2 separate regions of the Homo sapiens genome follow, and region 1 is linked to region 2. Evidence: promoter capture Hi-C in human tissues and cell types (Jung and others, 2019). All regions are on one chromosome and are shown on one strand. Each heading gives the region's core, a stretch centred on a gene start or on the middle of the fragment in contact. The rest is flanking DNA. Distances are from core to core; before and after follow the strand shown. Region 1 overlaps LCP1 (lymphocyte cytosolic protein 1). Region 2 holds the start of COG3 (component of oligomeric golgi complex 3).

Region 1 (6,822 bases), core at 912-3,411, 680 kb before region 2:
GCAAGAAGGTAAGCCTTTGAGAGCCAACTGAACAGCTACCCCACACAGGATTCCACACACTATTAATAGATACTATAGAAATACATGCGGAATTGAAATGGAAAAGAAAAATTAACACAGTATAAGAACCCTCGTCCAAATCCAATACAGTTTATTTTATTTCTTTCTTTCATTCTACTTTCAGTTTTTATTGCATCCTCTTTAGTTAAACTTTGGTCATAAAAAAGCTATGTTTTCTTCGGTCCCAAAAGATAACCCATCTTCATTCATCTAGGTGAGACGAGAGAAGAGCGGACATTTAGGAACTGGATGAACTCCCTGGGTGTTAACCCTCGAGTCAATCATTTGTACAGGTAGGAATATTTGGGAACTCATTCTAATGTAAGATAGAGACCTCAAAAGAGCCATAGGATTCCAAATACCACTATGATGTGCATTCTCTTCACAAAATGTGCATACCTTGCTGGAAGGGGAAAAAGTGCCAAGTTGAGCTTCAGATGTTGGATATTCAGTTGAAAAACTCACCTGCATACATCAGTCTCACTGTGTGCTCAATATATAAATCATACCTCAACAAAATGAAACATTTACTATATGTCATAAGTGATCTTACATATAACCCGCTCACAAGCAGGCAAAACAACAGATGTTAAGTTTGTGGTGAAGTGTCTCCTATGCCACTTGTTAAAGCAATTTTCTTCTTTTTTTTTTCAATATTTCTTTTTTTTTGAGATGGAGTCTCGCTCTGTCGCCCAGGCTGGAGTGCGGTGGCGCAATCTCGGCTCACTGCAAGCTCTGCCTCCCGGGTTCACGCCATTCTCCTGCCTCAGCCTCCCAAGTAGTTTGGACTTCAGGCACCTGCCACCATGCCTGGCTAATTTTTTGTATTTTTAGTAGAGACGGGGTTCCACCTTGTTGGCCAGGATGGTCTTGATCTCTTGACCTCATGATCCACCCGCCTTGGTCTCCCAAAGTGCTGGGATTACAGGCGTGAGCCACTGCGCCCGTTCTAAATATTTCTTTTACATTTATTTAGTTTTACAAATTGTAAACCTTTAGGTACAGGGGACATGTGCAGGTTTGTTATATAGGTTAATTGCATGTTGCAGGGGTTTGGTGTACAGATTATTTCGTCACCATAGTGCTCTTTCTTTTCCTGAGGCAGCATATGTTGGATGGAAGGGCATAGCTAGTCACACCTGGGAAGAGTGAGTCCCCCAATCTCTCTGAGTCATGGTTTCTTCACCTCTATAGATGGAGCTACGACTACCAAGTGTGCAGGGTTGTTGTGAATATTCTTTGAACTAATATGTAAGAAAGTGTCTGGCCCATTGTAGGCCCTGAATAAATGTTGGATATCTGAGAATCCTTTTGTGTTTGTTTTGTTCAGTGACTTATCAGATGCCCTGGTCATCTTCCAGCTCTATGAAAAGATCAAAGTTCCTGTTGACTGGAACAGAGTAAACAAACCGCCATACCCCAAACTGGGAGGCAATATGAAGAAGGTAAACAATGATGGTTCTGTTGTTCCAGGAGACAGGCAAAGTCATAGCCTGCAAGAGCACTCTAAATACTTTATAAGGCAGCCAAACGTAGACAAGTAATGTTTTTCCAGAAATTAAATTCTAGTACAGCAATCAGAAACCTGAACAGCTTTATTAAAGTGTGTCCATTATTTCAGTCAATTGCTTATTTATAATTCCATGTTGGATGTCTTCAAACATTATCATGCAAAAATTCTAATTAAGATAATTAGAGCAAGCAGAGAGCCACAGGGATTTTTCCCTCAGCAGGATCTTTATTCTAATTTCTAAAGAATTGGAGCTTGTACTGACAGCTTGACTTGTTCAAACAGTTTGTCGACTGTCAACACAGTGGGAACATTGTTTTGAAACAACAGGGTTGACACAGCCATTTCTCAGCATTTCTTATTGCCGTGACTGTTAATGATCCATGCGTAGCTACAGGAATATCTGTTCACATGTCCATTTGCTATGTGTGCAGAGGATGGAGACTCCAAATTTTCCATGTCAATCTCCATGAATTCACCTTTTTTAGAAATATTACATGTAGGTAATTAAGGATGGCTCTCCATTTCTGCAGTGTGATATAGCTGTGAACATATTCATAGTAATGAATTCATTTCAGTTTTCCACATTATGAATATTTTTTATGAAAGTGAGGGGTTCTAAGGACAGATGGAAAATTCTTTAATTTTGAATCCTAGAATTGCAGAACCAGTTGAGACTTGAGAGGTCATTCGGTCTTACCATATTTATTTCATTTTTTATCTTTATTTTTATTATTTATCTGGTATTTATCATAATCAAGATGATGACGTTAAATCGTTTTCCTTTCTGCTCATTCAGCTTGAGAATTGTAACTACGCGGTAGAATTGGGGAAGAATCAAGCGAAGTTCTCCCTGGTTGGCATCGGTGGACAAGATCTCAATGAAGGAAACCGCACTCTCACACTGGCCTTGATTTGGCAGCTAATGAGAAGGTAGTATAGCTTATGGAAGTGGCTTTTTCTTGAATACATTATTTACTTAGACAAATATTAGCAAATTTTTAGCAGTATGAGTTAATTCAGTAAAAGTATGTTTTAAGCTAAGCTTCATAACCAGAGAAACACTTTTTACCTTTCTGCTTTTTTTTTTTCAGTCCTATCAGTTTTTGTTTCAAGTATCGTGAAACTCTGTTATTAGGTTCATAAACAGTTTAGATTGTTGTTTCATTCTAATTTACTCATCCCTTTGTCCTTATAAAGTAGTCTTTTTTATGCCTACTAATATTCTTTTCTCTGAAATCTATTTTTTCTGACATTAATAGATAATAGCTACTATTGCTTCTATAGGCTTCCTATTGATTAGTGGTTAGCATGGCCTATCTTTTTACCATCCTTTTACTTCAATTGATCTGTGTAAATAACAATTACTTTTAAAGGGACTTTTTAAATAAAGGGGAAATTATGCTATATTTATCTACACATTTACTATTTCTAGTGCTCTTCCTACTATTTTATAGATCAAGATTTCCATTTGGTATCATTTTCTGTCTACCTAAAATATTTCTAATAGCACAAGTTTGCTGGTGATGAGTGATTTCAGCTTCTATATGTCTGAAAATGTCTATTTCATTTTCAAAATATTTTTTTCTCTGAGTGCAGAATTCTAAGTTGATAGTTTTTTCTTTCCGTACTTTAAAGATAGTTTCACTGTCTTCTGGCCCACATTGTTTCCAAGGGGAAATCTATTGTCATTCTTATTGTTGTTCCCTCATATGTAGTATTTCTTTTCTGGCTTATTTTAAGATTTCTCTTTATTACAGGTTTTAGGTAATTTTATTATGATGTACATTGTTGTTTCTTTTTTTTTTTTTTTTTTTTTGAGACAGAGTCTTGCTCTGTCGCCCAGACTGGAGTGCAGTAGTGTGATCTTGGCTCACTGCAATCTCCACCTCCTGGGTCCAAGTGATTCTCCTGCCTCAGCCTCCTGAGTAGCTGGGACTACAGGTCCACGCCACCATGCCCAGCTAATTTTTGTATTTTTAGTAGAGACGGGGTTTCACCGTGTTGGACAGGCTGGTCTCAAACTCCTGACCTAATGATCCGAGTGCCTCAGCCTCCCAAACTGCTGGGATTACAGGCATGAGCCACCATGCCCAGCTCCATTGTTGTTTCTTATGCTTGAGGTTTGTTGAACTTATAGAATCTATGGGTTTATACTTTCCATCAAATTTGGAAAACTTAACTTTCATCTCTTCAAACATATCTTCCATACCCACCAGCCCTGGTTCTGGGGGATTCCAAGTCCATGTATATTTGATCGTTCAAAGTTGTCCCTAAGCTCACCGATGCTTTAGTGATTTATTTTCTCTATGTTTCATTTTGTATAACTTGTATTGCTGTGTTTTCAAGTTCACTAATCTCTTTTATTTTGCATGTCTAATATTCCATTAACTCCATCCAGTGTACATGTTTTTTAACCTGGACATTATAGTTTCCATGTATAGAAATTTTGAGTCATTTTTATATTTCCCATAGCTGTCCTTTCCTTTACCTTCTTGAACATACAGAAAATAATTACAGTAACTTATTTTGGGATCTGTTTCTACTAATTTATTTTTATCTTCATTATGAGTCATATTTTTTGGCTTCTTTGCATGCTGCTAATTTTTTAATTATATGTCAAATATCATGAATTTGACCTTGCTGTGTACTGGATATTTCTGTATTCCTTTAAATATTCTTAAATTTAATCCTGGGATAGACTTAAGTAACTTAAATACAGTTTGATCCATTTGAGGCTTACTTTTAAGCTTAATTAATCTAGAGCTCATTTTGCTTGTTAGTAATGAGAAAATGGTCTTCTGAGTACTTTGCTTGATGCTCATGTATTATGAAATTTTTCCACTCCAGCTGGTGGGAACAAATTTTTCCAGCCTTGTGTGAGCCCCAAGGATTGCTCTCGTGGCTCATTTCTGGTGGGTTTTTCCCCACAGCCTCTAGTAGTTTCCTCACACATGTGCACTGAGTGGTCCTCAGCTGAAGACTGAGGGAAACCCTCTGAAGGCCGCTGAAGCTTTCTTTCTGAATGACTCTCTTCTCTCTATACAGTTCTCACCACTCTGATAGTCTTTCCCCTAAATTCTAGGCACCTGGGCTTCCTTCATTTCTCATCCCTGTTTCCTCCACTCAAGAGGATGGCCAGCTGTTTGGGTTTTCTCCTCCTATGCTGCAGCTTGGAAACTTTTTCCATGCTGGAAAAATCTTAAGGCTAACTTTGTTTTCTTCTTTTCAGGGGCCACTGTCCTGTGCTTCCTATTGTCTGATGTCTGAACAACATTGTTTCATATGTTTTTCACTGTATTATAAGTGTTTAAATGTGGGCCCTGTTATTCCATCATGGCCAGAAACAGAAGTTCCTTTCATACAAAACTTTAGATATGTTTTGGAACTGAATATAAACTTGACTAATGTGAGAAGTATAGGGTGATATTAGTTAAACAAAAATAGGTTATAAAAAGATACACAAATAGAAAATAAATTATAAGAAAAAGAAACAATTTTGGTACAAAATCATAAGCTTGGGAAGACTTTTAGATAGGAATTCTGTAAGTAATAAAATAATTTACTTGTAAATGCTTCAGTCTTTCCCCCTATACTAATAGCTCTGACAAGGCAAGAATCTTACATCCCCTCATTAGATCCTATGTTAGTGTGACTCAATTCATTTTCCTACCTGGAAGGAAGCCCCAGAAACTGCATGTCACATTACATTCTGTCTGGAAAGATAATGGCAAAGACAAGGTTCGTGGTGTGCCTAGGCACTGCAGCTTTAGTTCCAAGCCACTGTCTGCAGATCCTAATAATGGCCGGCTCTGGATGTAATCGTGTCAGTATTTCCAGATAAGGTAGGATAATCAGAAGTGATCATAAAAGATTTCACTCCCTGATTCACATTTGCTTTACTAAGTATAGAGCTCCATTACCCATTTCCACACTGGGGTCTCTTTAATGATGGGGGCAGATGTCATAAGGCTCCCCTGGTGCAGAAAACTCCAGAACTAAAGAAACTCCAACTCTGTCTTTTAGTTTACTGCATGTATCCAGAACATCATTGAAAACTCCTCAGGGCTGTTCTCACCAGTGTATTTCCAGATGATATTTCCAAGCTATCTTTATTATCTTCCACAAGTTTTAAATTTTTAACAGATTAGCAATTCATACTGATTGCTTTAAAAACCAAAGCAAAAGTCCTTTTAGTTGCAACAGTTAAACTGACTCATGGGTTTCAATATTAAATAATCTTTAATATATGCTATTTTAATGATTAAAAAGCTCAAGCCAGCGGGTGCGGTGGCTCATACTGTAATCCCAGTACTTTGGGAGGCCGAGGCGGGTGGATCACCTGAGGTCGGGAGTTTGAGACCAGCCTGGCCAGCATGGTGAAACCCCATCTCTACTAAAAATACAAAAATTAGCCAGGTATGCTGGTGCGTGCCTGTAGTCCCAGGTACTCAGGAGGCTGAGGCAGAAGAATCTCTTGAACCTGGGAGGCAGAGGTTGCAGTGAGCCAAGATCATGCCACTGCACTCCAGCCTGGGTGACGGAGCGAGACTCTGTCTCAGAAAAAAACAAACAAACAAACTCAGGTCAACCCCATTCTATGTTAAATTTCATAATATCTGAAAAACGTCTTGCAATATGATCTTTGGATGTTTTATAAAAATGTGGCTCAAAGCCCTATTTAATGGCTGGCACATACACAACAAGGTCCACTCTGCTGTTGCTGTCTCCACCTGGTTAAAAAGTCATATTTCTCATGAGTGTTTACTACATAAGAATCGTGCATTTAAGAAAGTAGACAGAAAAATATATTACTGTAGAAGGAGAAGTAATGACTGATAATTATATAAATGGCACCGGAAGGGATTTTTTTCCCTGCATGCTATATATTAAAAGATCTATTAAATTTACAGCTGGTTCTAGCTGGAATTTATTTCATTGAATTGTGCTGATGTGCTAATTTGGTCATTTATCTGGACAATAAATGGCTTGTCATTTTTTCCTATGAGAGCAAATGAGAGATATGTACTTAAACTTCCCTATCCCCTTCAGTAGCTTGGAAATCATTCTCAGGGTGGACAGTTGGCAAACAGCATATGCATAAACTTGCAGATAAAACCCTTGAAGCAAGCAGGCTGCCAGCACATGGCAATGATGGCTCTGAAGCAAATGAACAAAGAATCCGAAGCAGACAATTAGGAAACTCTCCCCAGGTCAAACAGGCTGTGGATGGTGAAGTCAGGATGGGTCCT
Region 2 (6,411 bases), core at 2,151-4,650:
GCCACGTGCACCTTGCATACGTGATTTCACATAATTCTCACAATTCCCTATGAGATAAGTACTCATCATGAGTTAAGTCCCCATTTTATAAAGAAGAAAATTAAGGCTTAGAAAAGATAAACATCACATCTAAGGTCACACAGCCTACAAGAAAACAACAGCTGTAACAGTAAATTATAGGTAAATGTCGGGGTAAATTATTTTAGCACTTTATCAAGAATTACTAAATTCAACAGAAAGAAATAGGCCCCTCACTACTAAGTTTGCCCTGGCTACAAAAGTCTACCTAATATTCTATTGTAAATTATTTTCTCTAATGCCAAAAAAGGCATAATTCCTTTTTAAGATAAGACTAGTTCTCTTTCATAAAAGAGAAAGCTATTTTCTAAAGAAGTTAACATCTTTATGATATGTACTTAAGAGTTAGTTGGCCTCTTGCTATTCTACTAGCCTGCTCAGTTCCAGTTGTTCAGGAAGTAATTTATCTCGTGAAAATTGTGAAACACTACAGAAAATCCTTGAGTTATACTGATTGGACAAAATGAAAATTGTGGCACTCTCTTTTGCTGCCAATGTTAAAAGAGTAGTATAGGGCTAAAAAAATTAATTCCAAAGTCTTCCCAACAGACATATAAACACTTCAGAAAAGGAAAATGAGGGCTGTAAAGCTGAAGAGCAATGAGAACTGCCTTCTCAAAGATTCCAGGATGTGTGCATAACCAGCTCGGCTACTGCATTCTTTTTGAGACAGAATCTTGCCTGTCACCCACCCAGGCTGGAGCGCAGTGGTGCAATCTCGGCTCAGGGCAATCTCTGCCTTCTGGGTTCAAGTGATTCTCATGCCTCAGCCTCCCAAGTACCTGGGATTACAGGCATGCACCACCACACCCAGCTAATTTTTATATTTTTAGTAGAGATGGTGTTTCGCCATGTTGGCCAGGCTGGTCTTGAACTCCTGACCTCAAGTGATTCTCCCGCCTTAGCCTCCCAAAGTGCTGAAATTACAGGCGTGGGCCACCGCACCTGGCCTCAGCTATTGCATTCTCACAGGAATCCAATACCAAGCTGCACGTACCAGAAGACCCTCACTGAATTCTTGAACTCATTAAGCTCATCCTCTACCCATGACCTTATGCTGTTCTTTCTTCCAGCTGCAATGTTATTTCTTTAGTCTTTATGAGGCTAGCTTCAGGTAGTCCATCATCAGTTCTCACCTCAGGCTGTCACTTCCTTGGAAAGGTCTTCCCTCTTTCTCTAAAAGGGCACACCTCATCCTTTTCTGTCACACCATCCTATCTGATTTTCCTTATATTATGGACCACCATCTGAACATACCTTCTTTGTTCTTTTTTTCCATGTTCATGATCCCCACAATTATGTCAGCTCTATGAGGCTAAGGATCTCATCTTTCCTATTTATCTTTCTATCTTCAATACCTAACTCAGAGTAGGGACATAACATATGTTAAAGACTGCATGTGGCTAATGATAAATATGGAAGAATGGGGTGAAAATGAAAGATTCCATTTAGTTCATTCCAAACGTTCTCCTTCATGCTCAATGAGAATAAGAAATAATAGTTTATGACCCATGACAATGAAAACAAATTTTTTTGTAGAATATGTATCTCCCCCATCACACCCTCAGTGCTATTAAGTCCAAGCATCCTGCTGCAGTAGGAGCCAAATCAATTATAAACAGACTGGAAAATTTATAGAGCAAACAACTTTTATTATCCAGGGTATAAAAGAGTTTGATAGCTGAGCCAAAGAAATTTCCACCTGCGCCTTCATTGATTTCAGATCCACTTCCGGTACCATATCCTAGAGGTGGAAAAAGAAACCCAAGAAAGAACGCCTATTTGATGGCTGAGCATACAACAGTGAATGTGAAGAGAACGTTTAAATCAAATCTCTAAAGTTGGAGGACAGAAAAAGTTGAAGACTCTAAACTCAATCTGCATTTGGACACAATTCCAAATCGTATAAAAAGAATGCTTCAGGCCAGGCACGGTGGCTCACGACTGTAATCCCAGCATTTTCGGAGGCCGAGGCGGGCAGATCACTTGAGGTCAGGAGTTCGAGAACAGCCTGGACAACAGGGCGAAACCCCATCTCTACTAAAAATACAAAAAATTAGCCGGGTGTAGTGGCAGGCACCTGTGATCCCAGCTACTCGGGAGGCTGAGACAGGAGAATCGCTTGAACCCGGGAGGTGGAGGTTGCAGTGAGCCGAGGTCACGCCACTGCACTCCAGCCTGGGCGACAGAGCGAGAGAAAAGAATGCTTCCAACATCAAAAGTAACCATCACCACTGCTTATATAAAATAATCCTCCTAAACCTGGCCCTCAAAACTGGAAAACGTTTGTCAAACATCTGACAATTCATGTTACTTCCTGCTATTACAACTAATTGAATTGAATCACACAAGAAGCAGTAGTGCATAATATCCTAATGGTAAGTGGATTAAACACATTGACTCTAACACCGAAAACCAGCACTGCTTAATAATGTACTGAGCCAACTTTCAAATAAAATTCATTTTTATTGCTTTGCAATAGGTGAAATAAATCTGATCTCCCATAACTTGCACTTGATTGAGAGCTCATAGTTCAATGTGCGATAAATGAAACTCACTCAGGACCAAGTTTTGGTCTCCCCAAGACCCCCATGGACAAAGCAACCTAGGTGAATCATTAAGGCGGTAAACGAGCACGCGCTGGAGACTGTCCTGCAGCACAGCACCTCGGGTTGACTGCCTCTCCTTCTGGGAGAGAGTGGGCAGCAGGATTACGCCTCGGCTGACAGGACGCCTCGTCTGGGGCAAAACGTTCGGTGCAAGGCTCCGGGCCAACCGTCCCATGCTGCTGGGGGAGGACTGGGTTCCGGCGAGCACCAGCTGCAGGACACCCCCACAGCCGTCCCCAGGCAGAATTAGAGTCGGGGTCGCAGGCAGAGCGAAGCCTGACAGCCTGGGAGATGAGGCCCCTCCCACCGGATCCGCCACCATGGCCAGGGAGGAGTGGAGAGATATCCTGGGCAGAGGCTAGTGAGGCCGGGGTCCTGCCGGGGCGCCCGAGGAGAATCCCAGCCCCATCGCCCCGGCCCGGTTCCTGCCCATCACCTCACCTCAGCTGGCACCGGCAAGTTCTCTGCCGCCGCCTTCAGCTCCAATACCGAGTCCGTCTGCCTGTCGGTCAGCGGCGCCGTCGTGTCCGGTCTCCGATCCCAGAGAGCCAGCTTTTCCCTAGCGTCCCGCTCCGCCGCCGCCTCAGGCAGCAGCAACAGCGCCGCCTCCGCCATCGCCGCCGCCCTCGCGGCCTTCAGCAGCAGCGAGATGGAGGGGACCCCGACAGAGAGACCTGGGCCACTTCCGGGAGAACCGGAGCTTCCAACACTGCACCGGCGGCGGGGCGGGACGGAATGCCCTGACCCCGGAAACGGTTCCGCAGTGTGGGGGGCGGGACCGAGGCCAGTACCGACGTGGCTTTAAATGGGTACGACTATTTCCGGTTGAAACGTAGAAGGTGGAGAAGACAGGACCCAATGGAAATAGAAATGCCCCTACCGGAAGTCTTTTCCTCAACATCAATAACTTTATTGTTACGTGTTGTACAGATTATTGACAACTGCGCTAAATCACCCTGCCGGCAGGAGACTTGGATCTACACCTCTCTGCTTACAGCTGGGTAGTCTGGGTAGAATGTGTGGAGTGTATGATTTCCATGTTGGCATGTTGACAATTTATGCCTCTTGGATCAAAACCAAAAGCATAAACTTTTCCAACATCCAGTAATTCCCCTACTAGAAAACTAATTTACGGAAACACATAAAAAATTCAAAGATGTGTGTATCTCAGACATCATTAATGGTATCAAATAACTGGAGACAACCTAAATGTCCAACATTGAAGAACTGGATCAAGAATTTGTGGCACAGACCAGGCGCGGGGGCTCAGGCCTGTAATCTCAGCACTTTGGGAGACCGAGGTGGGCGTATCACCTGAGGTCAGGAGTTTGAGACCAGACTGGCCAACATGGTTGAACCCCGTCTCTACTAAAAGCACAAAAATTAGCCAGGCGTGGTGGCACATGCCAGTAATCAGCCTGAGAGGCTGAGGCAGGAGAATCTCCTGAACCTGGAAGGTGGACGTTGCAGTGAGCAGAGATCTTGCCACTGCATTCCGGCCTGGGCATCAAGTGAGACTGTCTCAAAATGTATAATAATAATAATTTGTGGTACAGACATGTAATTCTACTCTACCATTTAAATCATATTGTAGATTTGAGCAACAAAATAAATAATGATAGTATTGGATCATAATTTACAGAATAAAATAAATACCCATGAGTCCATACTGCTATAAATAAACGATTGAATAAATAAATGGTGGAGAACAGACAATCTTCTACAAGTTATGGAGGCCTCTTCCTGCTCCTCCCTGGAGTCAAGGCAGGTGGAAACAGCTTCGTAGCAATTTTGACCATTGTCTGGGTAAAGTCTGAAGGCTTTATTCAGGCTTTATAGCACAAATCAGTGCCTGGCTATGTTCCCAAATGAAGGCTCTGATCTTTTAAGAGCAGAATTTGAGACCGGGCGCAGTGGCTCACACCTGTAATCCCAGCACTCTGGGAAGCCGAGGTGGGCGGATTACCTGAGGTCGGGAGTTCGAGACCAGCCTGATCAACATGGAGAAATCCCGTCTCTACTAAAAATACAAAAAAACTTAGCTGCGCGTGGAGGTGCATGCCTGTAATCCCAGCTACTCGGGAGGCTGAGGCAGGAGAATCGCTTGAACCCAGGAGGCGGAGGTTGCTGTGAGCCAACGTTGCACCATTGCACTCCAGCCTGGGCAACAAGAGCTAAACTCTGTCTCAAAAAAAAAAAGAATAGAATTTGAAGTTGGAAGAGAATTTTAAAATCATATAATCAAGCCCTTTCTGTCTACAGAGGAGCAAACTACAACCCGTAGAGGTGAAGCAAGCAGCCTAACATCCTGCAATCAGGTGGTTAACATCAGCGTCACCACTGGAACTTAGATATCCTGACTGTGTCTGACACCCTTTATATACCACAGCTTCTCCAAGTTGCCTGCTGTACAAAGCCCTTAAAAAATCTGCAGATCCCCAATGTTGATGTAAATAATTGTATTATATTGCTTAAGTATGAACAAAAATAAGACTTGACATAAGCTTTGGATGTTTATACCAAAATAGACATGCAAGTTACATGCCAACAGAAATATAACTAACATATAACGGTATATAACCAATAACATTCACATTAACAACTCAAGTGAGATGTGGGATATTATTTTGCTGGAAAACGAAATTGCTTCTGGCAACACGAAGACAGTCCTGACTACTGCTATACAGCTGCTTGGGAGTTCATCACACTTCTGTTATACCAGCAGCATGCTGTGTTCCCCACCATTTGAACTACTGGGAACACTTGACTCAGGGTAAATCCCTAATACCATTTTTCCTTTATCTGGCTTGTATATATCATTTGCATATTAAAACAACCCTGCTGTTTTTAGTAGCTTTATTAAAAATATTCTATATGCACAAACAAGGAGGGTGGAAGCTGAAATCATGTGGTAATCCTAAACTATAAAACTGTCATGTTGGTGATCCAGAATATGCATGAATATAGTTTTAAGAGTTGAAATGAGGCTGGGTGTGGTTGCTCACGCCTGTAATCCCAGCACTTTGGAAGGCTGAGGCGGGCGGATCATGGGGTCAGGAGATCGAGACCATCCTGGCTAACATGGTAAAACCCAGTCTCTACTAAAAATACCAAAAATTAGCCGGGCGTGGTGGCAGGCACCTGTAGTCCCAGCTACTCGGGAGGCTGAGGAAGGAGAATGGCATGAACCCGGGAGGCGGATCTTGCAGTGAGCTGAGATTGTGCCACTATACTCCAGGCTGGGCAACAGAGCGAGACTCTGTCTCAAAAAAAAAAAAAAGAGTTGAAATGAAAACAAATATTTTAAAAATGTAATCACAAGCTCTAGTTTGAGAAAGACTGCACCACATCCTACTGTCTACTGCCCTAATAAAGACATAGACCATGGTTAAACTTTCCTATTACCTACTACAAGTGTCTGCAATTCCACATTTCTTTGCTTCCTAGGGTTTTTCACCCAGTAATATCTTAGAATAGGCCCCTGGAAATGGAAAAATGCCTAAGGGACAAGGGGCAGAGGTGCTCTAGATTGAGGAAGGGGAGAGATAGGGAAGGAGACGGCGGTAAGGATCCAAAGACCTCCTTATAGTGAGGGCTTCATAGCCTCGCCATGGTCAGCCCTCCTCAATGACTCAAACCTGGACACTGCAAAGGACCCCCGCTAATAATGTGGCATTGCAAGAATAGCTCATGTGTTGATTTCCAAAGCACCTCTCATCTGCTG

Evidence for each region. The method cuts DNA at HindIII sites, captures the fragments that hold promoters and counts their contacts. A contact is called where the count stands out against the background at its distance.
Region 1: a fragment that was not itself captured here is called in contact with the fragment with the promoter of COG3 in region 2 in 2 of the 25 tissues and cell types used here (dorsolateral prefrontal cortex and hippocampus).

What each region holds. Positions count from the first base shown.
Region 1 is chr13:46,137,973-46,144,794 of GRCh38, reverse strand. It overlaps LCP1 (lymphocyte cytosolic protein 1), which reads left to right. Exons shown (of 16, transcript NM_002298.5): 11 at 275-353; 12 at 1,391-1,505; 13 at 2,370-2,503. Among named protein-coding and RNA genes, the nearest start is that of CPB2, 36 kb to the right of the region's middle. The HindIII fragment of the contact is 5,349 bases long and covers 1-4,835 here.
Region 2 is chr13:45,461,928-45,468,338 of GRCh38, reverse strand. It overlaps COG3 (component of oligomeric golgi complex 3), which reads right to left and starts at 3,400. Exons shown (of 23, transcript NM_031431.4): 1 at 3,129-3,400. The coding sequence starts at 3,302. The HindIII fragment of the contact is 8,447 bases long and covers 1-6,321 here.